Linked DNA regions of Homo sapiens: region 1 is linked to region 2. The links are contacts of gene promoters, found by promoter capture Hi-C in human tissues and cell types (Jung and others, 2019). All regions are on one chromosome and are shown on one strand. Each heading gives the region's core, a stretch centred on a gene start or on the middle of the fragment in contact. The rest is flanking DNA. Distances are from core to core; before and after follow the strand shown. Region 1 overlaps FNDC3A (fibronectin type III domain containing 3A). Region 2 holds the start of EBPL (EBP like).

Region 1 (6,508 bases), core at 1,111-3,610, 700 kb after region 2:
CATCCAGGTATATTTTTGGTTGACTATTTGTTGGATTATTTTGTCCATTTAGTTACTAGACTGTTTTCTTATTATTTAGTTTTGATAGTGCTTTATATATTCTAGATAGCAGTCCTTTACCAGATAAGTGATTTACAAATATTTTTCTCCCAGTCTGTGGCTTGTTTTTATATTCTCTTACCAATGTCTTTTGAAGTTTTAAATTATGATAAAGTACAATTTATCGATTTGTCATTTTATGAATGGTGCTTTCAATGCTATACTTAAGAAATCACCTAATGCAAGGTCACAGAGATTTTCTCCTGTTTTAAGAAATTTCATAGTTTTAGGCTTTACATTCTTTCTACTTTCCATTGAGAGGGGTATTGAAATCTCTGCTAAAATTGCATTATTTGTATACAGACAATCCCCAACTTGTGATGGTTCAACTTACAATTTTTGGACTTTATGATGGAGCAAAAGAGATACACATTTAGTAGAAACCATACATCAAGTATCCATACAAGCATTCGGTTTTCCACTTTTCAGTATTCGATAAATTACACGAGACATTCAACACTTTATTATAAAATAGGCTTTGTGTTAGATGATTTTGTTCATCAACCATATGATAATGTAAGTGTTGTGAGCACATTTAAGATAGGCTAGGCTAAGCTACGATGTTCAGTAGGTTAGGTGAATTAAACTCATTTCTGACATATTTTAACCAGGTGGGTTTATTGAGACATAACCTCATCATGAATTAAAGAGCATCTGTATTTCTCTTTGCAGTTCCAGCATATATTCAGAAACATTCTCTCTCTTTTTTTTTTCCTTTTTTCTTTTTTTTGAGACAGGGTTTTGCTGTGTCACTCAGGCTGGAGTGCAGTGGTGTGAGCATAGCTCACTGCAGCCTCAACCTCCCAGGTTCAAGCAATCCTCCCACCTCAGCCTTCCTAGTAGCTGGGTCTACAGGCGTGTGCCACCACACCCAGCTAATTTTTGTATTTTTTTGTAGAGACGTAGTTTCACCACATTGCCCAGGCTGGTCTCGAACTCCTGGACTCAACTGATTCAACCCCCTCAGCCTCCCAAAGAGCTGGGATTACAAACATGAGCCACTGCCCCCAGGCCAGTTCCTATACTAGATGCATATTTATAATTGCATGCCCTCTTAATTAATCCCTTTACTAGTATGAAATAATCCTCTTTATCTCTGGTAAGAATTCTTTGTTCTGTAACCTAACTTCTGGTTTAACTTACTGATTTCAGTTTTCTTTTGGATAGTGTAAGCATGGCATATCTTTTTCCATCCTTTTAACTCACTTAAAGTGGATTTCTTGTAGATGTGAAATATTTGGGTCTTAATTTTAAAAAATTGTATCCAACAATCCCTGACTTTTAATTGTGGTGTTTAGGCCATTTATATGTAATGTGATTGTTGATACGACTGGATTTACATCACCATCTTGCTATTTGTTTCAAATGTTCTTTGTCCCCTTTTCCCTCTTCATCTGCTTCATTTTGAATTATTTCCTATTATACCATCCCCTCTCTCTTGTTGATTTATAGGCTACAACTCTTTGTTACTTGAGTGGTTTCTTTAAAATTTACAATACACATGTTTTACTTATTACTGTATACCTTCAAGTAATACACTACTTCAGGAATATGTATCAGAACCTTACAACAATAAATCTGCAATTTCTCTGGGATTTTTGCTATTATTGTATATTTTACTTTTACATGTTTTAAACCTCATGTTGTCATTTTTTAGGGGAGGGCAGGGTCTCTATTGCCCAGGCTAGAATGCAGTGGTGTGATCTCAGCTCACTGCAATCTCCGCCTCCTGGGTTCAAGCGATCCTCCCAACTTAGCCTTCCGAGCGGCTGTGACTACAAGCATGCACCACCATGCCTGGCTAATTTTTTTTTTTTTTTTTTTTTTTTGGAGAGACAGGATTTCACCATGTTGCCCAGGCTGGTCTCAAACTCCTGGGCTGAAGCAATCTGCCTGCCTTGGCCTCCGAAAGTGCTGGGATTACAGGCACGAGCCACCACACCTGGCAACTGTCATCATTTTTATATTAAACAGTCATTTGTCTTTTAAAGATATTCAAATAATAATTTTTTTTAAATCCTATATATTTGCCCAGATAGTTACCACTTCCAGTACTCTAAACTCCTTGTGGCCAAGTTTCCATGTGGTTTAATTTTCCTTCTGCTTGAAGGACTCTATTTAACATGTCTTTTAGTTCATAAATGAAAGTGATAAATTATTTCAGCTTTTGTATATTTGAAATCTTTATTTTGCCTTTATTTTGAAAGACAGTTTGGGTAAAAAGTCCCAGGTTGACAGTTTTTGCAAAAAAATGTTTTAAAGATATTGCTTCATTGTCTTCTAGCTTACATTGCTTCTAATGACAGATCTGATGTCACCCTTATCTTTGTTCTGTTTTTCTTTGGCTGCTTTTAAGATTTCCTTTATGGGCCAGGCACGGTGGTTCACGCCTATAATCCCAGCACTTTGGGAGGCGAAGGTGGGCGGATCACGAGGTCAAGAGATGGAGACCATCCTGGCCAACATGGTGAAACTCCATCTCTACTAAAAATACAAAAATTAGCTGGGCATGGTGGCATGCACCTGTAATCCCAGCTACTCGGGAGGCTGAAGCAGGAGAATCGCTTGAACCTGGGAGGCGAAGGTTACAGTGAGCCAAGATTGTGCCACTGCACTCTAGCCTGGCAAAAGAGCGAGACTTTGTCTCAAAAAAAAAAAAAAAAGTTATCTTTAAGTGATTTGATTATGATGTGTTTTAGCAGAGTTTTATTCATCTTTCTTATGCTTATTGTGCTTATTGGTTTATAGTTTATATCTATTTTGGAAAATAGCCATTATTTCTTCAAATACTTTTTCAGTTATTGTCTCCAAATTCTATTTTCTTCTGTGCTTCATTTTGGATAGTTTCTATTGCTGTATCTTCATGTACACTTATCTTTTCTTTGACAAAGTCTAACATGCCATTAATGTAGTATGTCTTTGACACGTAATTTTAATCAGACAGTATCTCTATTTAACATGTTCAATCTTTTTGTTAGCTTCTCCAACAGTCATAACTGTTTTAATGACTATCATCATCAGTATCATTTGAAGGCCAATTTCAAGTGATTAATTTTTCTCAATATGGTTTGTATTTTCCTGCTTCTTTGCAGACTCAGTAATTTGAACTGCATGTAAGATACTGTTAACTTTATCTTGTTGGCTGTTGGATATTTTTGTATTTCCATAAATAATCTGGAGATTTGTTATAACATGTGGCTAAGGGACTCGGACAAAGTTTGACTCTTTGGGACTTGCTTTTACGATGGATTAGGCAAGAACAGAGCTGCATTTAATATGTAATTAATTTTTCCCCACTACTAATGCAAAACCCTCCAGAGTACTCTACTGAATGCCTTGTGAATTATGAGGCTTTCTGTTCTAGCTAGTGGAAACAGGCACTTCTTCTGGCCCTGTGTGAGCTTGGATACTGTTCTATATACAATCTTTTTAGTTGGCTCTTTCTCCAGCCCTGTGTAGTTTCCTTAAATGTATATGTTTATCCATACTTTGCTGAACACTTAAGGTTTTCATGTCTGATAGCTTTAACTTATAAATTACTATAAGCTTTTTCTTATCTTTTTTTTTTTTTTTGAGACAAGTTCTCACTCTCTCACCCAGGCTGGAGTGCAGTGGCACAATCATGGCCCACTGCAGGCTCCTGGGCTTAAGCAATTCTCCCACCTCAGCCTCCAAAGTAGCTGGAACTACAGGCATGTGCCACCATGCCTGGCTTACTTACTTATTTACTTATTATTTAGTAAAAACAAGGTCTTGCTATGTTGCTCAGGCTGGTCTCAAACTCCTTATATCAAGCAATCCTCCCACCTCAGCCTCCCAAAGTCCTGGGACTATTAAGTGTGAGCCAAGCACCTGGCCATACTACAAGCTTTTAAATTATAAATTACTATATTATGGCTTTTATCATTCTCATATGCAATTTAGATTCTGGAGAAGGTTGTTTAACCCTTTAATGTATAATGATACATATCTGCAGTAACAATATTTTTGGCTTTACCTGTTGCTAAAGTAGGTGTATTCATGAACATTCCAATTTGGCTTGGATGTTGACATTTCATCAGTGATGTACTGTTTATGAATTTATGCTTTGGGGTGGAGAGTTCTGTAGATGTCTGTTAAGTCCACTTGATCCAGAGCTGAGTTCAAGTCCTTAATATCCTTGTTAATTTCCTGTCTCGTTGATCTAATACTGACAGTGGGGTGTTAAAAGTCTCCCACTATTACTGTGTGGGAGTCTAAGCTTCTTTGTAGGTCTCTAAAAACTTGCTTTATAAATCTGGGTGCTCCTGTATTGGGCACATACATATTTATGAGAGTTAGCTCTTCTTGTTGCATTCAGCCCTTTACTATTATGTAATGCCCTTCTTTGTCTTTTTTTATCTTTGTTGGTTTAGAGTCTGAAAAATACAGAACGCTTCATGAATTTGTGTGTCATCCTTGCACAGGGGCCATGCTAATCTTCTCTGCATCGTTCCAATTTTAGTATATGTGCTGCCAAAGCACGCACAAATTTATGCTATTTAAATAAGTTATAATGTATTTTTGTTTAAGTGCCATAACATTTTTATATACAGGGCAGTGATTATAGCCATAGTTTCATAATGCAATAGGTCAAACCATATGAAACTGCCACTGAGGTCAAAAACTTTAAAATATCAACAATTTAACCTAATGAAAGTGTTCATACACTTACAAAGAAATCAATAATTTACACAGATTGTTAGCAACAAATTTACTGTAACTTATTTATCTTATTCTTCTCCAATCCCACATCCACTGGAAAGAAGGAAAGAGTAGTGTTGGTCGGATGGATAAGCCTCACTCTTTCATGTCCCTTAAGTGAAGAAAGGTTTAAAAGGGAAGAGGGCATTCAAGCCACCATCCTCACCCTTCTTAGTCAGATATACTAAATTTAAATTTAATTAGACATTTAGGAGATACAGCCCCCATTCTCCCACTAAGAAATTATACCTTAATACTAACATGAAAATCCTGTTAAAATAGACTTCAAAGGAAATCTTGATCAAAAAGATACTTCCAGTCAGGAAACTATGGAAACAAGAGAGAAAGAACTGCTTCCAAGAAACGAACCCCAGTCCATTAAAGGACTGATAGTGTGCACATAGATCAGTTTTTCTTTCAAGTAACATCTTCTTAAGTTCCACATATAGCTCTAGCTGTCTAGTGTCTTTGGAGCACATAGGCTACCCTTTAGAGCCAAAAGGCAACTACACCTGGGACAATCCTATTTTCACTTCCAAATATTTTACTGTCCTTTTTAGAAGTATTATATAAAACTTTAGTTTTTATATTATAGATTGTTAACTTTGCTCTTGTAGAACTTCAAATCCATTGGTGTGATTTTTGGACTGAAGATTAAACCTGTAGTTTCTGAATATTTTCTGGCCACAGTAATACATTGGTAACTAAATTCACAACAGAAAGTTTGAGTTCCTGTGTAAAAGCTACTGTATTACTATAACTTAACCATATTAACATGTTTCCTTCACTAATTCCTCCAAAATAATTTTATCATAATAAAATCAAGTAACATTTCTTTATTTCCTATAAGTAGATTTGTCTGCAGAATCCAGTAGTCCTTAAAGTAGTCCTTTCTGAGATGACCAGATTCTTTGTTTATAAATCTACAACTATGCCTTGGTTAAAGATTGCCTCTAATCATACTCATCTTCCTTCAACTTCTTTTTAAAAAAACCTTCCGGGCCAGGCGCAGTGGCTCACGCCTGTAATCCCAGCACTTTGGGAGACTGAGGTGGGCGGATCATGAGGTCATGAGTTTGAGACCAGTCTGACCAACATGGTGAAACCCCGTTTCCACTAAAAAATACAAAAAATTAGCCGGGTGTGGTGGCACGTGCTTCTGGTCCCAGCTACTCAGGAGGCTGAGGCAGGAGAATCTCTTGAACCTGGGAGGCGGAGGTTGCAGTGAGCCGAGATCACGCCATTGCACTCCAGCCTGGGCGACAGAGCAAGACTCCGCCTCAAAAAAAAAAAAAAAAAAAAAAAAAAAACAACTTCCTTCTCCTTACTCTGTCTTCCTCTTAAGCTTCTGATTCCTCTCTTGACCTCTATCATTAACTGTCTTGAAATATTAGGTTTTAATATTAAAGGGGAGGATCAAAATATCCAGACATATGGGACTTTAAAAAAACTACATTCGAAATTATAACTTTATATTTAAAAAAGCAAAGTGTTTTTATAACAGAAACTCTGAAAATAAAAAGCACTTTATTTTGTCTTGGTTGGCAGTTGTAGTTATAGAGGTTAAGAATCACTGGTAGAATTCTCACTTCTTTAACCCACTTTAACACAGTTTCAGATCCAACACTATACAGAAATTGCTATTTCTAAAAACACCAATGACTTCAGACACCAACTGGGAAGCTTC
Region 2 (7,396 bases), core at 652-3,151:
CTATAAAAAATGGTATAGGAAGTGACTAAGGGAAAAATTTCTTGTGTTCAGTGCCAGCATTTTTTTTAATAACTGTAAAATACACATAAAATTTGCCATCTTAACCATTTTTAAGTGTGCAGCTCAGTAAAGTATGTTCACGTTGTTGTGCAACCAATCTCCAGAACATCATCTTGCAAATCAAACTATCCGAATAAATAACACTCCACTTTTCCCCGCGCCCCCCCCCCACTCCCGCCCCGCCCCACCCCTGGTAACCATCATTCTATTTTGTTTCTGCAAATTGATTATTTTAGATATTTCCTGTAAGTGGAATCATAAGTATGTTTTTGTGACTGGCTTATTTCACCGACCTCATAGGGTTGTTGTGATGTTAAATAATGTAGGTTTGTTCCCGGACCAAACTGGGGGTTGGGCAGCCCAATAATGAGGTGCAGATGAACTGGGGAAGAAGAGTTTTTATTTCTGCAACCGGTTACAGGGAGAAGGTCTGGAAATTATTGCCAGACCAACTCATAATTACAAAGTTTTTCCAGAGCGTATATACCTTCTAAGCTATATGTCTACGTGTAAGAGTGCATTCATCTAAAGACGTAAGTGATTAACAACTTCTAATCCTGAAGACCTTCCTCTGGAGCCTCAGTAAATTTACTTAATCTAAATAGGTCTGGGTGCTGGGATGATTACCCTTATTTTGTCTCTTGCTAAATCATGGAGGCTTGTGGAATTCCTCCAGACTCCCAATAAACTTGTTTTTGGAGGCCTGGGGAGTTTCTTCAGACCCCCAATAAAACTTGTTTAATCCTAAACGGGTCCTGTTAAAAATTCCTTAGTTATCTTGTCATGCTTCAAGGCCCAAGAAAGGCCTAGGCAAAACTCTTGGTGGGCTTTTGTTACATTCCAGACTTTGGTATATGGGCACTGACTCTTTCAGCTTTTAATTTTTTTTTTGTTTTTTGAGACGGAGTCTCGCTCTGTTGCCCAGGCTGGAGTGCAGTGGCGCGATCTCGGCTCACTGCAAGCTCCGCCTCCCGGGTTCACGCCATTCTCCTGCCTCAGCCTCCGGAGTAGCTGGGACTACAGGCGCCCGTCACCACGCCCGGCTAATTTTTTGTATTTTTAGTAGAGACGTGGTTTCGCCGTGTTAGCCAGGATGGTCTCGATTTCCTGACCTCGTGATCCGCCCGCCTTGGCAAAAAGTGCTGGGATTACAGGCGTGAGCCACCGCGCCCGGCCTCAGCTTTTAATATTTAATTTAACCACTCAGTGCTGAAGCAGTTGTGATGGAGGCCTGCGATAGTGAAACCTGGCCTGCCACAGGTTAAACGCATCTATCGCCAAGCCAATAGGACTTACCGCTCCTCTCACCCACCCTTCTACTTTTCTGGATTTTTAAGAAATGGAAAGATTGTCAGAGTAGGCCATAAAGGCTTTAAGCCGGCTGGTGGCTGAAAACTCCCTTGGCCCCCAGCCTCCCTGGTAAGGCTTGCTGCAGCCTAATTAAAACCTTTTGCCCCTAAAATTCTGCCCCGGTCTACTGGCAAAATTTCCACTACCTAGGCTTCACTTTGTGGCTTAAAGTTTGAGCCTTGTTAAAAGCGAAACAACATCAAAAGGTGTGGCCCTATTACCAATCCTTTGGGCTCGGTTTGGGAACAGGTTTGGTCGAGGCGGTTGCGCAAGTTGGTGAGCACGTTCCTTCTACGGAACCTCCATGGGCGGCACCTGGCAAAACCACCGGACTCAGCAGGCTGGCCAGGGTGCGAGGCGGGCACGGAATCCTCGCTCTGGCCCCGACCCGGCCGGGGAGCCCCGTCCCTCCCCGGACCGCCTTGGCCAATCAGCTCCGCTCCTCCTTGGCCATCCGGCTCCGCCCCTTCCCGGCCAGCCCCGCCCCGTCGTTTCTCTCCCTGCTTTCCTCTGCCGCATGGTCCTGGGCCGTTGGCGTCGGAAGCCTGAAGCATGGGCGCTGAGTGGGAGCTGGGGGCCGAGGCTGGCGGTTCGCTGCTGCTGTGCGCCGCGCTGCTGGCGGCGGGCTGCGCCCTGGGCCTGCGCCTGGGCCGCGGGCAGGGGGCGGCGGACCGCGGGGCGCTCATCTGGCTCTGCTACGACGCGCTGGTGCACTTCGCGCTGGTAAGTGCCATCGCCTAGACCCTGCACTCCCCATCCCAGAGAGTGGGAGCGGGGGCGGCAAGGCGGGGTGAGGGGGTCCTGCGGCTTTTTGCAGCGAGCTGGCCGCCCCTCCCCCTGCTGCAGGAAGTCTGTTAGCTGAGAGGCGCCTGGAGGCCGCGGCGGCCGGAGTTCTGATTCCCAGGTCTGTGAACAGAGCGCAGCTTACCTTGTGCTGCCGATTCCTCCACCAAACTTTAAAAAAATTCTGTACGTGCTATGTTAGTTTAGAAGATACCTCAGCTTCCTCGGCTTTGTAACCTGCACGTAACTGTTGAACTGGACATAATTGAGAGTAGAATTGAGGTCATTTTTAAATGCCCCAGAGGGGGCAAGGAGAGATGCTTGCTCCGGAGGCAGCAAGGCTATTGTCGCAAAACCCGAAGCCTTTGCCAAGACAAACGAAACACCCGTGTCTAATGTGTGCCAGGCGCATTACTGAGTTTAAAATTTCAGATCTTTACAGCATCCATAAATTAGTTATTATTGTTCCCCATTTTACAGAGGTGAAGGTAGGCGCTGCAAAATTAGGTGACTTTCCAGTGCCACACAGCTGGCATGATTCTGAGGCAGTCTAGTCTGGCTCCCAAGTTTGCACTCTGTGTATCAGTCGAGGTCTTAGGAAATATGTGTCCTTAGAGATTCAACCCATTTTATAAAATAGCCAGGAAGGTTGTGTTTAAGGCATTTATATTGAAATGCCCCGCCCCCCACCACACACGCGCACGCACACACACACACACACTTTTAAGTTTTTTTTAAACTATGCCCAAGTATCAGTTTGTTTTTTTTTTTTTTTGTAAAGTTGACCTTGTTTAACTCTAGACACACCTGTGGCTAATGTGAAGCCAAAGTCAGTAGTATTGAGAAAGCAAGCCGAGTTTTGGGTAATCATCGAGTTCTGTAAATGTTTACGGGTTGGCTTTGTGCCCATGACTGATGTTGCTGGAATTCTTTTTATTCTGATAATCAACATGTAGAGATAAGGGACAGTGAATGTTTCTCTCAACTCCTTTATTTATAGAATTCTTTTTTTTTTTTTTTGTCTTTTTTTTTGTTGTTGTTCTTGAGACAGAGTCTAACACTGTTGCCCAGGCTGGAGTGTAGTGGCACTATCTCGGCTCACTGCAACCTCCGCCCCTTGGGTTAAAGCTATTCTCCTGCCTCAGCCTCCCGAGTAGCTGGGATTACGGGCGCCCGTCACCACGCCCAGCTAATTTTTGTGTTTTTAGTAGAGATGAGGTTTCACTATGTTGGCCAGACTGGTCTCAAACCCCTAACATCAGATGATCTGCCCACCTTGGCCTCCCAAAGTGCTGGGATGACAGGCGTGAGCCACCGCCACCGCCACCAGCCGAGAATTGATTTTTAAGCTATCACTTGAACACAAGGTTTCCCACAGAACAAGGGAGATAAAGCAGATTGCTAGGCCCGGTTAGAAAAAATGTATAACAAAATGTATAACATAACAAAAATGTTGCTAGGCCCAGTGAGAGAAAACTGTGTAACATATTGGCTGGGTATAACTGTATATAGCATATCAGAATGTATATATATAAAAATGTATAACATATCGGACACAGTGGCTCATGCCTGTAATCCCAGCATTTTGGGAGGCTGAGGCGGGTGGATCACGAGGTCAGGAGTTCAAGACCAGCCTGGCCAACATGGTGAAACCCCGTCTGTACTAAATATACAAAAATTAGCCAGGTGTGGTGACGGTGCCCATAATCTCAGCTACCCGGGTGGCTGAGGCAGGAGAATTGCTTGAACCTGGAAGGTGGAGGTTGTAGTGAGCCATGATCAAGCCACTGCACTCCAGCCTGGGCAACAGAGCAAGACTCTATCTTGGGAAAAAAAAGAAAAATGTTTAACATACCTTAGACAAACAAAAAGCTGTAAAAATACTTAAACTATATGCGTGTGTTCACCACTTGGTTTAAGACTGTTTACTTTTCAAGCTCAGGTTGTTACAGGTAACACGACACACACCTCCTTTTGTGCCATTACCTACCCCAGCTGCAAAGTAGTCCACTGTGTGAATACACCATACCTTAGTTCTCCAAGTCTAAGACCCACATTTTTTCACATATTAGAAGAATCAACTACATCATGTAACTACTGTAGGCCATTTGATTGATATTTTAATGTCTCTAAATTGGGATGTATCTTATATTTGATGAATACGATCACTTAACCAGCCCATATTAGTGGACACATTTTTCTGTCATTACAAACAATGCATCTACCAACGTCTTTGTACATGTGTCTCAGAGATCAGTGGGGAGAGCACTTGAATTAAGCAGTTGAGGCTGCAAGAAAATACATGCCCATGTTGTCTTTGCTTGGGAGTTTATTGCAAGAATACCCAGAAGTGTGGGACAAGCTAAGACTAAGATGTAGAGCTTAGGGGAGAACCAAAATTAAAACTCACTTGTTCACTAGAAGATGAGTTGCCTCTCCTTAACCCGACACTTCTTTTTTTTTTTTTTTTTTTTTGAGACGGAGTCTCGCTCTATTACCCAGACTGGAGTGCAGTGGCGCAATCTCGGCTCGCTGCAAGCTCCGCCTCTCGGGTTCACGCCATTCTCCTGCCTCAGCCTCCTGAGTAGCTGGGACTACAGGCACCCGCCACCACGCCCGGCTAATTTTTTGTATTTTTTGTAGAGACGGGGTTTCACCATATTAGCCAGGATGGTCTCGATCTCCTGACCTCGTGATCTACCTGCCTCGGCCTTCCAAAGTGCTGGGATTACAGGCGTGAGCCACTGCGCCTGGCCACCCCCTGACACTTCTTAAAGAGAGGAGCTCTGTAGGTTTTTTGGCTGCCATCAAATTGAAAGCTATCCTGTTGGACAGTTTCAAGCCAAGCATTCCCAGGGGCAGTTCATTTCCCAGATGTCCAACCAGAGTGCAGTCACCTTGGGCCCCAGCACTGGTCATCAGTTCAGCTCGTTATGACTACAGCAGAGGGCAGGCTGACTTCCCATCAGCCTACCTGGAAGGAGCCATGGCAACATACTAGAAGAAGGAAATGGTGGGGTCACCATTCTGAGGTCGCTGTGGGCAGCCTAGGCACTGGTGCTTCATGGATAAAATTTTATCTCTTCTGCAATCTATGTATAGCATTCAGGCATGGCCAGAAACATGAGGCAAGATATGAATGCCTGTGTATGGAACACATCCTGTAGTCCAGATTGACAGGAGCACAGGGTTTACATAAGAAGTGGGAGGACCAGCTGGAAAGGTGACAGGTAAGAATTGTATTCTGTAGTGAGAAGCCACTGAAGGATTTCAAGCAGGGAAGTCACGTGGCCAAAGCAGATCTTCATAAAGATAATTTAGTGGTGATGTGTTAAGTCAGAAACTCTAGCGTCCGAGATTTTACCCAACTTAGAAGTTAACAAGGTAGTCCAGTTTGATTCCCCAAGGCCCAAACCCCACAGGACAACATAATGAAGGCCAGATGTTACTGCCTGTACATGCAGTGGGATGCGTTACAAGAAAGGAACTCCAGAACTACGCGTCCATCTTATTGTGAGCTGGTGGTGGCCTGTCCATACTTCTCTCTGGAGAGACCTTATCTTAGGAATGTAAACCTCTGAGGAGGAGAAGGTGAGGTCTTGATCTTTACCACCCTAGAACCTCTCTGGAGGGAGCTGTCTCCCAGGTTTACTACTCTGGAAAGGCTCATTATAGAAACATTCTTAAAATTGATATAAATGTCTTTGCTCAGAGACCCAGACAGTGCAGGATGTGAGATATTCATGGAGAATTGTCTCTCAACATGGTGCAGGTTGGATTGGAAAGGATGGAGTTGAGGGGCAAGAAGAGCAACAAAAAGCAACTGCTGTAGTGTGGGGAGTCATTTAAAAAAAAGAGAGAGGCAAGCTGAGGTGGTGTTGGAACTTAAAATGGGGAGGAAAGCTAACTGTGAGAGACTTTCCAGGGGAGAATGTGGTAAGTCAAAGTGGCCACTTGTAGATTGGGGGTGGACATGATCTTGGGGCTTAGGCCCTGAGCAACATGGGTAATGGTGATCATGTTAACTAAGACAGCAAAATCTGGCTTTAGAACTATGAGTCGGGGGTCCTCGTGTGCAGTTAAGAGAGAATAGTGCTGGGCAGTGGCTCACACCTGTAATAAGCACTTTGGGAGGCCGAGGCAGGATTGCTTGAGGCTAGGAGTTGCGAGACCAGCCTTGCTAACATAGTGAGGCCTTGCTAACATAGTGAAGCCTCATCTCTACGAAAAATTAGCTGGGTGTGGTGCTGCATGCCTGTGATCCCAGCTACTCAGAAGGCTGAAGTAGGAGGATCACTTGAACCCAGGAGATTGAGGCTGCAGTGAGATATGATTACGCCACTGCACTCCAGCCTAGGTGACAGAGTGAGACCCCATCTCAAAAAGAAGAGAGAGAGAATGGCCAGAAGGCAATTGAAAAATGTAAATTGAGTTGGAGAGACAGAGTCAGGGCAGAAGAGAGAGTGCTGGGAATTCTTTTCTGAGTTGGGGGAGATAGCACGAAGCCCCAGGTATGACTGCTTTTGCTGAGCTAGAGAGAACAGAAGGGTGAAAGAGCTGAGGAATAAGAGCAGAATCTTTTAAAATATCTATCCTAGGAGAGAGTGGGAAAGACCACGAACCAGGAGAGTGCTGGGGTCCTGGGATCCACAGAATGGAATTTCAAGAACACTGATAAATTGCTGTAGCACCATTAAAAAAAAAGAAAGAAAATAAAAGGTGAGGCACCTGGCAACCAGGAAGTCAATGGTGAGAGTGGGATTGATGGGAGGGAGGCTCCAGAAGCCAAAGGCTTATAGGCCAGGTAGAGGAGAAGCTGGGCAGTAGATGAAAGCCCTGCAGGAGGTTTGGTGGTGGGCGGAGGAAGAGCAGGAGGGTAGCTCCAGAGGCACCTCAGGGCAGGCTGGGGGCTCTTGGTTCTTTTGAAGATGAAGGTCTGGGCGAGAGGATGGCCGAAGAAGGGTAAAAGTGCAGACGCGGCAGGCAGCTCTCGCTGTCTGATGTGTGCTTGGCCATGGAGGTTGACCTGTTTCCTAATAAACCTCTGCCTGGTTGTTGCTTCCACACTTTTGTCATGGTGTAGTCTGATTAGCCTTGTCCTGCAGGGTGAAGCACAGCTGTCACAGAAAACCTGGGCCTTGGCTGGCTCTCCATGCATCCCACCTAACACCTGTGAATGGTTTTTCGTTGAGAAATCTTGAGG

What was found. Contacts are between HindIII fragments. The study calls those that stand out against the background at their distance.
Region 1: a fragment that was not itself captured here is called in contact with the fragment with the promoter of EBPL in region 2 in 1 of the 25 tissues and cell types used here (spleen).

The regions. Positions count from the first base shown.
Region 1 is chr13:48,986,009-48,992,516 of GRCh38, reverse strand. The region is part of intron 1 of FNDC3A (fibronectin type III domain containing 3A); the gene reads right to left. It also overlaps the pseudogene RNU6-60P. Among named protein-coding and RNA genes, the nearest start is that of FNDC3A, 13 kb to the right of the region's middle. The HindIII fragment of the contact is 5,787 bases long and covers 1-5,253 here.
Region 2 is chr13:49,685,991-49,693,386 of GRCh38, reverse strand. It overlaps EBPL (EBP like), which reads left to right and starts at 1,901. Exons shown (of 4, transcript NM_032565.5): 1 at 1,901-2,133. The coding sequence starts at 1,963. RefSeq lists silencers at 1,776-1,975, 2,006-2,145 and an enhancer at 1,609-2,606. The HindIII fragment of the contact is 15,697 bases long and covers 1-7,396 here.